Linked DNA regions of Homo sapiens: region 1 is linked to region 2. Evidence: promoter capture Hi-C in 16 types of primary human blood cells and fetal thymus (Javierre and others, 2016). All regions are on one chromosome and are shown on one strand. The core of a region is centred on a gene start or on the middle of the fragment in contact, and the rest is flanking DNA. Distances in the headings are between cores, read along the strand shown. Region 1 holds the start of EXD3 (exonuclease 3'-5' domain containing 3). Region 2 holds the start of CLIC3 (chloride intracellular channel 3).

Evidence for each region. Contacts are between HindIII fragments. The CHiCAGO score rates a contact against its expected background, and 5 or more counts as called.
Region 1: the fragment with the promoter of EXD3 here is called in contact with the fragment with the promoter of CLIC3 in region 2 in 1 of 17 cell types (M0 macrophages); the score reaches 8.6 in M0 macrophages.

Annotation. Positions count from the first base shown.
Region 1 is chr9:137,419,440-137,427,077 of GRCh38, forward strand. It overlaps EXD3 (exonuclease 3'-5' domain containing 3), which reads right to left and starts at 3,723. Exons shown (of 22, transcript NM_017820.5): 1 at 3,675-3,723. NOXA1 (NADPH oxidase activator 1) reads left to right here and starts at 3,954. Exons shown (of 14, transcript NM_001256067.2): 1 at 3,954-4,267; 2 at 6,809-6,891. The coding sequence starts at 4,091. It also overlaps the pseudogene LOC124902354. RefSeq lists silencers at 3,315-3,454, 3,465-3,604, 3,625-4,184. The HindIII fragment of the contact is 6,751 bases long and covers 2,905-7,638 here.
Region 2 is chr9:136,994,885-137,001,746 of GRCh38, forward strand. CLIC3 (chloride intracellular channel 3) reads right to left here and starts at 1,684. Exons shown (of 6, transcript NM_004669.3): 1 at 1,627-1,684; 2 at 764-873; 3 at 558-683; 4 at 302-408; 5 at 46-221. The coding sequence starts at 1,659. RefSeq lists an enhancer at 5,282-5,401. The HindIII fragment of the contact is 14,896 bases long and covers 1-6,862 here.

The sequences.
Region 1 (7,638 bases), core at 2,473-4,972, 430 kb after region 2:
CGGGTGGATCACTTGAGGTCAGGAGTTCGAAACCAGCCAGGCCAATGTGGTAAAACCCCGTTTCTACTAAAAATACAAAATTAGCTGGGCATGGTGGCTCATGCCTGTAATCCCAGTTACTTGGGAGGCTGAGACAGGAGAATCGCTTGAACCTGGGAGGCGGAGGTTGCAGTGAGCCAAGATCGCACCACTACACTCCAGCCTGGGCAACAGAGCGAGACTCCATCTCAAAATAAATAAATAAATAAAATAAAATAAGGTACAGTCCAAAATTTGCATTTTCTTCAAGGAAATTCATGGAAAGGACATTGACAAGTATACAGACTTCCGATAACCTGGGAGATCACACCAGTAGACCAGATAAAAACTTCCAGGACTCTTATTTAAAAGCTGATGCATTCATGAGGATTGTTAACCCAACATCATACAGAAAAAAGCGGCCGGGCGCGGTGGCTCATGCCTGTAATCCCAGCACTTTGGGAGGCCAAGGCGGGCGGATCACGAGGTCAGGAGATCGAGACCATCCTGGCTAATACGGTGAAACCCCATCTCTACTAAAAATACAAAAAAATTAGCCGGGCATGGTGGCAGGTGCCTGTAGTCCCAGCTACTCGGGAGGCTGAGGCTGGTGAATGGCGTGAACCCGGGAGGCGGAGCTGGCAGTGAGCCGAGATTGTACCACTGCACTCCAGCCTGGGCGACAGAGGGAGACTCCGCCTAAAAAAAAAACAAAAAAAACCCCAGCAAATTACATAGAACTGAACTGATAGAGGCCTGAAATGCTTTTTATGATTTTTTGTTGTTATCGAAACCTTGCTGACTCTTTTTATATTTTGTTTTCCAGAGTCAGAAAACCTTTTTCTTTTTGAGCTATTTATAGCTATAGCAATTGAGTGACATATACTTTTGTGAGCAAAACTGAAATATTTGTCTTTTTCTCTACCTGATTTCTCAAAAATCTGGAAGCGATTCATGAGTATTCTTATTTTATGGCAATGTAGTTCTTTGCATGAGTTCAGTAAGAATCTGTTGTCCTTGTAACAGGACACAATTGGAGACCCTGGTTATTCTACCAAGGCTTGGACTGGGATGACGTATTTTTGGATATGACGAGACTGCTTTGAGGAATCGAGGTTCGCTTTATAGAGCCAATAAAAAGCCCCTTGGGATGACTGGACTGGTGCCCTGTTTACATAGTTCCCTTAAAAGGTTCTTGGCCTTGAGGTAAGGAAAGAATGTCACTTTCCGACAGATCCAGGAACTTCAAGATAGTTTGGGACCTGGAGGACAGACATTCACCCCCCCCCCCAAATTCATACAGGTATTATACATACACTGTGATGGGGAGCCACTGGCTTGGCTTCCTAGACATGGGAAGTGTTTGTTTTGTTTAGAGACAGGGTCTCGCTCTGTCACCCAGGCTGGAGTGCAGTGGTGCGATCATAGCTCACTGCAGCCTCAATCTCCTGGACTCAAGCGATCCTCCCATTTCAGCCTCCTGAGTAGCTGGGACTACAGGTGAGCACCACTATGCCCAGGTAATTTTTAAATTTTTTGTGGAGACAGGGACCTCGCTATGTTGCCCAGGTTGGTCTCAAACTCCTGGGCTCAATGAATCCTCCCACCTTGGCCTCCCAAAGTGCTGGGATTACAGGCATGAGCCACCATGCCCAGCCCTCAAGTGGCTTTTAAAGGTCTATTCTGACCCTCTTGTAGTTCATAAGCATGATGATTGCCTCATGTGTAGGGTCTGTCTCCTTCAAACGCTGTTATGACGCCAGCACATTACCTGTCTGATGTGGGGAAAAAAAGTCTGAAATTCCTTATGGCAAAGTTCCAGCCAGTTTAGAAAGGAGCCTATATGGCCAATCACCACTGTTGTACTTTAGGCAAATAATCAGGCCAAATATAATCCTAAAATTTATTTTACAAGTAAATTGGTCTTACCAAGATTTATCTTTGGTAGAAATGGGGAAGTAGAGAAAAATTATGTTTCAGAGAAAAACTACAGCATACCTGTTACTGGATTCTAGCCCTGATCATTGTATTTTTTATTTTCCTACAATCTGGACTAAATCCTGAACAATCTTCTGGCTACAAGTCTCAAAGAAGAACCTGGCTGGGCAGAGGTTCACACCTATAACCCCAGCACTTTGGGAGGCCCAGATGAGAGGATCACTTGGGCTCAGGAGTTCGAGACTAGCCTGGGCAAGGTGTCAAGACCTAGTCTCTACCAAAAAAATTTAAAATTAGCCGGTCCTGGTGGCAAACACCTGTATTCCCAGGTACTCAGGAGGCTAAGACAAGAGGATCATTTAAGCCCAAGAGTTCAAGGCTGCGATGAGTGGGAATCGTGCCTCTGCACTCCAGCATGGGTGACAGAGCAAGACCCCATTTCTAAGTAAACAAATAAATAAAAAGAAAGAAGAACATGGATTTTAGTTTCTTCATGTTTTTAGTTGTCTCCCTAATGGAACAGGTTTGTTTTTTTCATCCTGGCATACAAATTGGTTATAGTCCTATGTGTTACTTCTGAGAAAATTAAAATTAATGGTGTTTCTAAAAACTAGAGATGATTCAACAGGTGACAGCAGTTGTATAAATTAATGACTTCACTGAGACCTCATGTTTGCCACCCTGTAATGCCATTCCAATTCAGTTTGTGGTGTTCTTAAAAAAAAAAAAAAAAAAAAAACTCCCTGAAATGTCTCCTCCTTCCCTGCTTGGCATGGGACAGGACTATGTGGGAATGAGCCTTCCCAGCAAGAGGGGACACTCTGACCCTCAGATTTTGATAATCAATGCTTTCAAGAAGAAAGATTTTGATCAAAAGGGGGGCAAATGAGAAAGAAAAAAATCATTTATCTGAGGAATGTAAAGCCCTTTTAAACTGTGGGCCCAGAAAGCTTGATGTTAAGTGCCAGAAAGCATTTCAAATGAAACCGCAGCCCCTCACTACCCCTCGAGCCAAGTAACTATCCACTGATGACACCAAGCCGTGGTCAATCGCGAACCAATGCCATTTCTACAAGCCAGTGAGCTCCTGGGCAACGTTCGAAACCACCTGCTCTCCGATGGGCTCTGTTTTCTTTAAAAACCTGAGCCTCTGTTTTGTTCTCCGTTGCACCTGGTGACCCAGGCCGCCCTCGACCTCTGTGCCTGAATAAACCCACCGGGCACCACATTCTGACCCTTTTAATTATTTTAGGTTGACAACTAATACAGGACTCAGCGCCGGTGGACAGGAAGCCAGGGCCCCTGCAGGGAGGCGCCCGTCCCTTCTCCCGGGGAGGGCAGGGCGGGCGCGCGCGCGTCCCACCGGGAGCGCCTCCTCCTCGGCGAGGGAGCGAAGGGCCTCCGGGTCCTGTGATGTCCGTGCTCGGAAGGCGCGGAGGAGGGCAGGCCCTGCGGGACAGGGCGGCGGGGTCGCCGGGGTCGGCTCAGCTCCCCGCGGCGTCCGGCTGCTCGGCGGCCTCCGGAGCGGGGCCCTGCGGGAGAACGCACCTTCCCCGCCCCATCGGGGCCTCAGTTTCCCCACCCCGGGAGAGCCGGCGGCCCGCCCCCGGCTCACTCCCAGCTACGGCCCTCACCTCAGGACGCGCACCCGGCCCGGCCCCGCTCTGCCCCCGGCGCCCAGACCGCCCACCTGGCCCGCGCGGCCCGGGGTCGCTCACCTGCGGGGCCGGGACCGCCCCACACCGTCCACGCCCGGCGCGGAACCTTGGCCCGACCGCAGCCGCTGGCCCGGAGGGCTTTATCCGGCGCACCAAGGCCAGCGCGGGCGGGGCGAGGAAGCCGGGCGCACAAAGCTCCCGGCGGAAGTCCGGCCGGGGCGGGGGCCGAATGGGAGGTGGGCGAGGCCTGAGGGTCTGGAGTGGGCGTAGCCGTTTCTGGCGGGGGCGTGGCCTTACCGGGGAGGGGCGGGCGCCTGCCGCCAGGGGGCGCCGCGGGGCAGCGGGGTTGCACCTGGCGCTTGGCGCCCGCACCTCTGCCCGCCTCGGAGACCCCGCAGCCCCGCGCCGCCGCCTGGCCCCGGCCCCGGCCCCTCCGCGGGATCCTGGCCCCTCCTCGAGCGCCGCCACCGGCCGCCATGGCCTCTCTGGGGGACCTGGTGCGCGCCTGGCACCTGGGCGCGCAGGCTGTGGATCGTGGGGACTGGGCCCGCGCCTTGCACCTCTTCTCGGGCGTCCCGGCGCCGCCCGCCAGGCTGTGCTTCAACGCGGGCTGCGTGCACCTGCTGGCCGGGGACCCCGAGGCCGCGCTGCGGGTGAGCGGGGCGTGGGGAGGCCGGTGCGGGCGACGCCTCCGCCTCGAGCCCCTGGGGAGGGCCCAGCGCCCCTCCCCGACCGTCACGGGGTCGCCCTGCCGCCCCCGACCCAGCGAACGCCCCGGCAGGTGGGAGCCGAGCAGGGGGGCCGCACCTGAGCTAAGCGAGGCCGCGCTGGGGGGCGCGGCGGTCACCGGGAGAGGCCGGGGCCCGAGGGTGACTCACACCGGGAAGGGGGAAGCTGCTGGGCTGGGTCAGGCCCGAGGGACCGCCCTGCCCTAAGGGGAAAGCGTTGCGCCTGTGGTCATGGCCGGGAGACCGGGTCAGTCTCCTCCTCAGAGCCCTCAGCCCTCCCCCAGCCCACTCCCCGAAACAGCCAGGAGTCCAGGGTGCCAGGGTGCAGCGGCCGAGGCCCTGCACGGAGCCCGGTGCCCTTCTCGTGCCCCCTCGCGTTCCGGGGCCGCCTGTTCCTGCGCATCCCAAACGCCAGCGCTGCCCACCCCCGCTCAGTCCCAAGCACCCCGCAGAAGCAGGCAGGTGCCCACGGTTACTGAAGGCTCGGTGACAGCAGTGATTTAAAGGAGAGGGAACTGCGCGCTGTGGGAGGGTCTCCACGCCCCTGACTGGCAAAATATCCCCCTTGGAGGAGACTGGGCAAAGCGCATGAGACCCCCCTCTCTTGTGTCTTAAAGCTGCGTACAAATTTACAATCACCTCCATAATGATTTCATTTTTTTGTTTGTTTCAAAGATGGAGTCTCGTTCTGTCACCCAGGCTGAATGGAGTGCCGTGGCCCAATCTTGGCTCACTGCAACCTCTGCCTCCCGGGTTCAAGCAATTCTCCTGCCTCAGCCTCCCTAGTTGCTGGGAGTACAGGCGCCCACTACCACGCCTGGCTAATTTAGTATTTTTAGTAGAAACGGGTTTCACCATGTTGGTCAGGCTGGTCTTGAACTCCTGACCTCAGGTGATCCACCCTCCTCGGCCACCCATAGTGGTGGGATTACACATGTGAGCCACCTTGTCCGGCCCACAATGATTTCATTTTAAAATGTTATCCAAGAAAGGGAATGTAATCTTTAGACACCAGGTGGTTCAGCAACAAATCCTATGTCCGGGGCTAACCCAGTCACTTGTGCTCTTGTGCCTGGTTTCACTACAGAGAGGGGACGCAGTGAAAGTCATACGACTAACCCACAGCATATGCATGTTAGGAATATGGGAACTTAGGAAAGCAGATGGAACAGCTATGATTCATAAAGCCGATCACGTGAGGGGCAGCCCAGGGTGCAGAGGGTGTCGCTGGAACTGCTGTCTCTTGTTAGGAGCCTTGCGTGACGTTTGGGGCAGACAGGTGGGTTCTGCTGGCCCTGAGCCGCCACCCCACATCAGGGCTGCGTGCCTGTGCTCAGCCGCCACACTTCACACCTGTGTGAACTTGGTTCAACGACAAGCCCCCACTCAGCCAGATTTGTGAAAGAGACCGTAGCACCCTTCCTGTCACACACATTTAACTGATGGCCACGGTCCCTGTTCAGAACCTTCTGTGTCCTCCTGAGTCTGGTTTAAGGAAGAGCTGTGCTTTACACACAGATAAACACATGAAGACGTGTGTTGTTCTTTCTGATTCTAATAGATTTCTAGGGTGTCATTTTGCATGAACTATCAAAAAAGGATTTTTATTTTATTTATTTTTTGAGACGGAATCTCGCTCTGTCTTGCAGGCTGGAGTGCAGTGGTGCGATCTTGGCTCACTGCAACCTCTACCTCCCGGGTTCAAGCGATTCTCCTGCCTCAACCTCCCGAGTAGCTGGGACTACAGGCGCGTGCCGCCATGCCCAGCTAATTTTTGTATTTTTAGTAGAGATGGGGTTTCACCATGTTGGCCAGGCTGGTCTCAAACTCCTGACCTCAGGTGATCCGCCCACCTCAGCTTCCCAACATGCTAGGATTACAGGCGTGAGCTAACATGCCCGGCCTGTAATGCAGTTCTTTAGCTGCTGACTCTGGGATCTGGACTGCGTTATCTCGTCTCCAGTATGTGACAGCCAAGGTTGCCTGAGGTCAGGAGTTTGAGAATGTCTTGAACCCAGAGGCGGAGGCAGCAGTGAGCCAAGATCGAGCCACTGCACTCCAGCCTGGGTGACAGAGCGAGACCCCGTCTCAAAAAAAAAAAAAAGGATTTTTAAAAGACAAAAATCTTGCATAACCCCACTCCCCAGAGGTAACTATTATTAACATACTGGAACACTTTTTTCTGGCCTCTGTCCTTGTGCTCATGGTAAACACATTGGTTTTAGCAGCACCTCAGTGGGCTCTGCGCCTTGGACGGGTTGGGGTTGGGTGGGCTGTGGCAACCTGAGTGGCGACAGCCCTGCCCAGGCAGGGGCTCCGAAGGTTCCTGGACAGGAGCAGGAGGGGCTGTGGGGGGTCCCCAGGGGCTGACGGAATTCCGTGGCCCTGTCACCCATCACGCTGTATCTGTGATGCTGCGTGACCAGGTTACAGACCTTGGCATCCCGTGGGCATTTTTGTCCCCAGGCATTTGACCAAGCCGTGACCAAGGACACCTGCATGGCGGTTGGCTTCTTCCAGCGAGGAGTGGCCAACTTCCAGCTGGCAAGGTGAGTACAGGGGTGCCTTGTTCCTTCTCTGACGGCCCTTTGTCTCCCTGCAGAGTCCACTCCTGCACCTCCTCCTCCTCCCTCTCCATCCACTCCCTCCTCTTGCCCACCCCCTCCTCCATGGTTCCTGGCTCCAGGGAAACCTGAGACTGTGGCCCTCGCCTCTGCTGAGCGCCACCCTTGGACACAGGTCGTGGGGTCCTCACTGCTTACCTGGGCTCTCTGCACCATGTCCCTTCCTAAAGGAGGAATGAGGGAAAGGAGACCATCGGGACTGCAGACCAGGCCATGCCTCGGCCTCTCTGCTAGACACTCACAGGCCCCATCCCAGGAGGGCAGGCTCTGTGGGGAAGTGGATCACAGTCCCGAGAGCCTCGCAATCCTGAAATATCAAAACCCCTCAAATCTAAAATCCCAAAAAATATAATTCTAGAAAAAATAAAATTCTGTAAAAGATATTTATTTACTTTTTAAAAATTGTTTTGAGAAGGAGCCTTGCTCTGTCATCCAGGCTGGAGTGCAATTGTGCGATCTCGGCTCACTGCAACCTCCGCCTCCTGGGTTCAAGCGATTCTCCTGCCTTAGCCTCCCGGGTAGCTGGGATTACAGGCATGTGCCACCACGCCTGGCTAATTTTTGTATTTTTAGTAGAGACTGGGCATCACCATGTTGGCCAGGCTGGTCTCGAACTCCTGACCTCAGGTGATCCACCCGCCTCGGCCTCCCAAAGTGCTGGGATTACAGGAA
Region 2 (6,862 bases), core at 434-2,933:
GGCGCGCCGCGGTCACCCTCCCGCCCGCCCACCTTCCGTGCTCACGTCGACGATGTGCAGCTTGGGCAGGAGGCTGCAGTCGGCCAGCGTGAGCCTGTCGCCGTCCAGGAAGCGGCGGCGGGACTCGCGCAGCTGCGGCTCCCCCGCCAGCTCGTGCTCCAGGGGCGCGCGCAGGTAGCTGTCCAGCCTGGCGAGGGCGCGCAGCAGCTGCTGGTACAGGGCTAGGGGGCAGGCGGCGCGGTGAGGACCAGGCCCAGGGCGCCCTCCCGCCTGGGCACCCGACCCCCTGACCCCGCTTCACCTTCGTCCTGCGCGGGCACCGGGTTCTTGATGAACGCGGAGAACTTGTGGAAAACGTCGTTGCCGGCGGTGTTGGACTCCCTGTAACGAGGCGCCAGGCTGGGGAAGCTGCGGGATGAGGGGGTGGGACTCCATTAGACTGGGGGCAGCCCCGTCCCGGCCCCACAGTACCCCCACAGCGCCTTCCTGGGCTCTGTCTTGCGCGCGTCCTCCCTGGGCCCCCCTCTTTTCCCCTCCCACCCTGCCGGGGCTCTCACTCGGGCGGCCCCAGCGTCTCCTCCAGAAAGTCCTCGATCTGCAGCGTGTCTGTCTTGGCGTCGCTGTCATAGAGCAGGATGGGCAGCTGCGAGCCGGGGGCGAAGTCCTTCAGCACGTCCGGGGACCTGCGGGCAGCAGCGGGGTGGGAGGAGGCCGGCCCACCAGTGTGCGAGGCCAGGCGGGGGTCCACAGGATGGGGCCTCACCTGCGCGTGTCCACCGTGGTGAGGGTGAAAGGTACGCCCTTGAGGAGCAGGACCATGAAGAGCCGCTGGCAGGAGGGGCAGTGACCCACGCTCTCCCCGTCCTCACTCGCCTGGGTGGGTGGAGCGGGGGTGGGGGGTCAGGGCTGGAAGCAGACCCAGGCATCCTGCCGCCAGGCTGGGCGGGACCCGCCTCCCACTGCCAGTGGGATTGGAGGGACGCCAGGGCTCCAGCTTGGTCGGCGCGACTTCCAAGTGCCCAGTGAGGGCCCTTGACTTGGTCCCCAGAACGTGGGGAGGGGGGCAGAGCTGCTGGGAGCCTTGAGGCCTGGGGCAGGCTTGGCCCCTGGAATCTTGTCAGAGCCTGGACAGAGGCCAGGCCCCTGGGCTCAGTCCCCAAAAGCTGGTTGCAGGGGTGGGGTGGGCCTCACAAGCTGTTTTCTGAGTGATTCACACATGAGACTGGGCACTGTGGCCAACAGCACATCAGTCCCCCACCCCAGTCCCCGACCTGAGAGCTGATGGGGCTGCCTGGCCCAGCACCCCCCATCCTGGAACACCGACCGTAAGCTCCACTGTTGGCAGCCTGCTTGGTACCTCCCCACCAAGGAGCTCTCCTCCAGAAGACTGGGCTGGGCCCAGGAGCCAAGGCTGGGAGCAGGACCAGGGCCACTGACCCCTCTCTGGGTGACTCGCTGGGTCCCACTTTACTCAGCCTCTGTAGGGCTGCCTGAGTCCCCCTAGCCACCCACAGGAAGGGGCTCAGACATTACTGGGAGGCCCACCCCACAGCCTGCCACAGAAAGCAAAGCCCAGAAAAGCGCTTCCTCCCAGACACCCTCCCCGCAGCTGAGTCCGCCCTGCACCTTGACAAACAGCTGGAGCTTGGTCTCCGCCATGGTGGGAGCTGCCGCGGTCAGGCGCGGGTGGGGACCTGGGGAGCTCTTTAAGTCTCCCTGTGCGCCCCGCCCTCCCTGGCCGAGGGGCCCGCCCCGTGGAGCCACCTAGGCGGGCAGATGAAGCTGCCCAGCGCGCAGAACCAGCTGCCTGAGCAACGCCAGCCCGGCCCCGGGGTGTCTGAGCCTGAGGGTGTGACCTCAGGGTGGCGGAATGGTGTGGGGGGCTGCCCTGGACTTGAGTCTGGTGTGCACGGAGATCCGCCCACCCGGTACTGAGTGTGCTGGGAGCCAGCGTGGTGGGTGGAGACCAGGGGGCAGGGCATAGGGAGAGCCTACAGGCCAGAAGGGTGCAGGGGGTGTCACCTGGGAAGGGGGCGGCTCTGGGTCAGGACCACCTCCACCGTGAACCCAGCTCAGACCCTGCCCTATGGCTCTCCCTTCCGCAAATACCCCTTGTCAGGGCTCCCAGCCCAGAAAGCCAGTGGGTGTGGGTGAGCAGGAGAAATGGCCTGCCCAGCCTGGCTTCAGTTCCCCATCTGCAGCACCAGGGCATCGGGAGGGTGATAAGCCCACCTGGGGGAGCCGCCCCTTCCCAGCTACGGAGCAGTCAGGCAGGGCCCTCCCCGCTCAGGGCAGGGCTCAAATTCCAGACCTGCCCGCAACAGGGCGGGGAGGCCAGCCTGGCTTTGGTGTTTGGCCGGCAGTGCAGGTCTCCACCCCACCTCCCATCCCTCCCACTGGCGCTCAGCGCAGGTTTCTTACCCCCAACCCCTTAACCTTTAAAAAGAAGCAGCAGGAGAGGGGTTAGAAGCCACAGCCTGCGTGGCTGGAAGAAAGAGGCCAGGGGAGGGTGGTGGTCCACAGGTGTGAGCCTGCGCTGAGCCTCCTGGCGTGATTGGAACCCACAGTTCAGTCTGGCCCTTTGGGGTCGCCAACTGTGCCTTCCTCCCACCTGGCCCTGACGCTTTAGGGTGCAGCCCCAGGGAGGTACACCGAGGGGAGATTCCACCCAGAGACCTGGGGTGCCCACAGGATTGGCCTGGCCACACCTCCCCCAGGCGGTGTGGTGCCTCACCAGCCTGGACAGGGCAGCTGAGGTGGCACTGCTCTCCTGCTCACCTTCTCCCCAGGGCCTTGGTACGGGCCCCTCATCCGTCCCCGGTGGAACACACTCCAGTGCTGCCCCAGTCAGCCCAGCCTGATGCTTCTCTGGATACCACGCCAGTCGGGGCTCCTGGACACAGAGCCTTGGAAATACCATGTGGCTGCCCCATCCTTTGGTGTCCTGAACCTCAATTTCCCTCCATCCGGCCTCCACCTCGATTCCAAGCCCTAGTATTTCAGCTCTTTCTGGACACTGTGGTTATAGCTCCGCTTGCTGGTTTCCCACATCCCTGGCAGGCAAATGGCCAACCACAGAGAAGCCCCAGGCCCCCAGCCCCCTCTGCTGCCCCGGCATCCTGTGTCTTTAACACCGACAGACGCACCCTCACAAACCCACAGGAAAAATGACGGCACGGACAGAGGCCGTGAACCGGTGGCTCAGAAGGAAAAAGAAAACAAGACACAGGAAGACCATTCACCTCACGCCCGTCTCAAGAAACAAACCAACAAGACTCGGTTCACCGCTGCAGCGGCCCCACTGCGTTCTGTGGGCGTGGGCTGTGGACTGTGGAGCGGCAGTGGCCATCCAACACCCCCCTGTGCCCTCGCCACCTGGGAATCAGCCCGGTGGCTTCCTTTTTTTTTTATGGTTTAATCAATTCATTTATTTACTAGAAACAGGGTCCTGCCATGTTGCCCAGGCTGGTCTCCACCTCATGGGCTCAAGTGACCCACCTGCCTTGGTCTCCCACAGTGCTGGAACTACAGGCGCGAGCTGCCACACCCGGCCGGTTTCCCTGTGAAGGGCAAGTGAGTGCTGGCTGCCCCACTGCGTGGCGTGGCGTGGCGTGGCGTGGCTCCGTGGCACGGCCACCACCCTGTCTATGGGAGACTCCAGTTGTGTCCAGGGAGAAGGACGGAAAAGGTGACTCCATGCATGCCCACTGCAGGGAGGGCCTGAGATTAGGTAAATGGCGTGGCTTGTGTCCCCTTAAATTTAAATTCTTAGGCTGGAGTCCTAACCCCTAGTGCCTCAGAATGTGACCTTATATGGGCCGGGCACGGTGACTCATGCCTGTAATCCCAGCAGTCTGGGAGGCCGAGGGGGGTGGATCACCTGAGGTCAGGAGTTTGAGACCAGCCTGACCAACATGGTGAAACCCCGTCTCTACTAAAAATACAAAAATTAGCCAGGCATAGTGGCAGGCACCTGTAATCCCAGCTACTCGGGAAGCTGAGGCAGGAGAAGTGCTTGAACCCGGGAGACAGAGTTGCAGTGAGCAGAGATAGTGCCACTGCATTCCAGCCTGGGCAACAGAGCAAGACTCCATCTTGGAAAAAAAATAAAGAATGTGACCTTATGTGGAAACAGGGGCTTTTTAACATTTTTTTTGAGACAGAGTCTTGCTCTGTTGCCCAGGCTGGAATGCAGTGGTGCAATCTCGGCTCACTGCAACTTCTGCCTCCTGGGTTCAAGCAATTCTACTTTCTCAGCCTCTGGAGTAGCTGGGATTACAGGTACACGTCACCACGCTGAGCTTTTTTTTTTTTTCCTTGTATTTGTAGTAGAGACAGGGTTTCACCATGTTGATCAGGCTGGTCTCGAACTCCTGACCTCAGAAGATCTACCCACCTTGGCCTCCCAAAATGCTGGGAATACAGGTGTGAGCCACCGCACCCGGCTGAAATAGGGTCTTTATAGAAGTTATCAAGTTAAAATGTGGTGAGTAGGATGTGCCCTGATCCAATATGACTGATGTCAGTATAGAAAGGCGAGTTTGGACACAGATGCACAGGGAGGGCCGCAGGCAGAAATCAGGGTGGCACATCTGTAAGCCTGGGAGCCAAGCGGATGCTCTCCAAGGCCCTTGGGAGGAAGCAGCCCTGCCCAAGCCTAGGTGCTATGTCTGACCTCCAGACTGCTAGGCAGTGAGCTTCTGTTTTTTTTGTTTTTTTTTTTTAATGAGATGCAGTCTTGCTCTGTCGCCCAGGCTGGAGTGCAGTGGCACAATCTCGGCTCACTGCAAGTTCTGCCTCCCCAGGTTCACGCCATTCTCCTGTCTCAGCCTCCCAAGTAGCTGGGACTACAGGCGCCCGCTACCACACCTGGCTAATTTTTGTATTTTTAGTAGAGACGGGGTTTCACTGCGTTAGCCAGGATGGTCTCGATCTCCTGACCTCGTGATCCGCTCGCCTCGGCCTCCCAAAGTGCTGGGATTACAGGCGTGAGCTCCCGCGCCCCGCGGTGTTGTTGTTTTAAGATGGAGTCTCACTGTCACCCAGGCTGGAGTGCAATGGCTCAATCTCGGCTCATTGCAACCCGCGCCTCACCGGCTGAAGCGATTCTCCTGCCCCAGCCTCCCGAGTAGCTGGGATTACAGGCGCCCACCACCACGCCTGGCTAATTTTTGTATTTTTAGTAGAGACGGGGTTTCACCATGTTGGTCAGGCTGGTCTCAAACTCCTGACCTCAAGTGATCCGCCCACCTCGGCCTCCCAAAGTCAGTTTCTGTTGTTTTAAACCCCTCACTTTGTGGTCCTTTGCATGGCAGCGCCAGCAAGCTAATAAGTAAAGCAGGGAGAAGCCAGGAAATGGAAGAAAATCAGCATTAGGATCTGTCATTCTGAGTCTCTACTTGAACAGAGCTGAAAAAAGACGCAAGGAGCTGTCTGTGGGATGACCCCTGACAGGCAGAAACAGGCTTTCAGTTTTGCTTCCTGTCTGTCCACACTGTTTGCATTTTCTACCACATTTTTGTAATACCACATTTTCTACCACAATTTCATAATGTTTTGAAGTAAGAACAGTATCACAGCCACTAACCTTAACTAGACCCTGGTCCCCGAGGCCACGGGGTTATCCCTAAACCTCCCGTCCCCTGCAGCCCCTGCTCCTGATTCATAGAGCCAGCGTTAGAGGGGCCCAAGCTGAGGTCCCGAGGCTGCTGCTCTGGGACTGACTGACTGGTGGGTTAGAACTCTCTCCCTCCCCAACACCCCTCCCTGTAGGCCCCTTCCAAGGGGCTCTTTTTTTTTTTTTTTTTTTTTTTTTTTGAGACAGGGTTTCACTCTGTCACCCAGGCTGGAGTGCAATGGCGCAGTCATAGCTCACTGCAGCCTCCACCTCCTGGGCTCCAGTGATCCTCCTGCCTCCGCCTGCACAGGGCCACACCCCAGTGACATTTGAGCAGCTCTGTTCTGAAGGGAGACACACACCTGTTTGGGGGGCCGGAGGGCTGGGGGCATTGGGGTATTGGTGCAAACTTGTGCAGAGATTTATCTGCTCTGTGCATGGAGAGAGCCTAGAAGCAGTGAGACCTCGGGAGCGGTGAGACCTCGGGGGCGGCGAGACATCGGGGGCGGCGTGACCTCGGGGGCGGCGAGACCTCGGGGGCGGCGGGACCTCGGGGGCGGCGGGACCTCGGGGGCAGCGAGACCTCGGGAGCAGTGTGCAGACCAGAGCTCAGATTCTGGTCCCAAAGCCCATCTTCCCTAAAAGGAACCAGGGTTCTGCTAGGGACTGAATGTGTCCTCCCCAAAATTTGTGTGTTGAAACCCTGGCCCCTAGGCCAGGCACATGGCTCACGCCTGTAATCCCAGCACTTTGGGAGGCCGAGGTGAGTGGATCACCTGAGGTTGGGAGTTCCAGACCAGCCAGACCAAAATGGGGAAACCCTGTCTCTACTAAAAATGCAAAATTAGCCGGGCGTGGTGGCACATGCCTGTAATCCCAGCTACTCGGGAGGCTAAGGCAGGAGAATCGCTTGAACCTGGGAGGCAAAGTTTCCGGTGAGCCGAGATCACTCCATTGCACTCCAGCCTGGGTGACAAAGCGAGACTCTGTCTCAAAAAAAAAAAAAAAAACAAAACAAAACCCTGTCTCCTGCAAGGTGATGGTGTTAAGAAGTGGGGTTGGCTGGGCGCGGTGGCTCAAGCCTGTAATCCCAGCACCTTGGGAGGCCGAGGCAGGCGGATCACAAGGTCAGGAGATCGAGACCATCCTGGCTAACATGGTGAAACCCCATCTCTACTAAAAATACAAAAAATTAGCCGGGCGTGGTGTCAGGCGCCTGTAGTCCCAGCTACTCAGGAGGCTGAG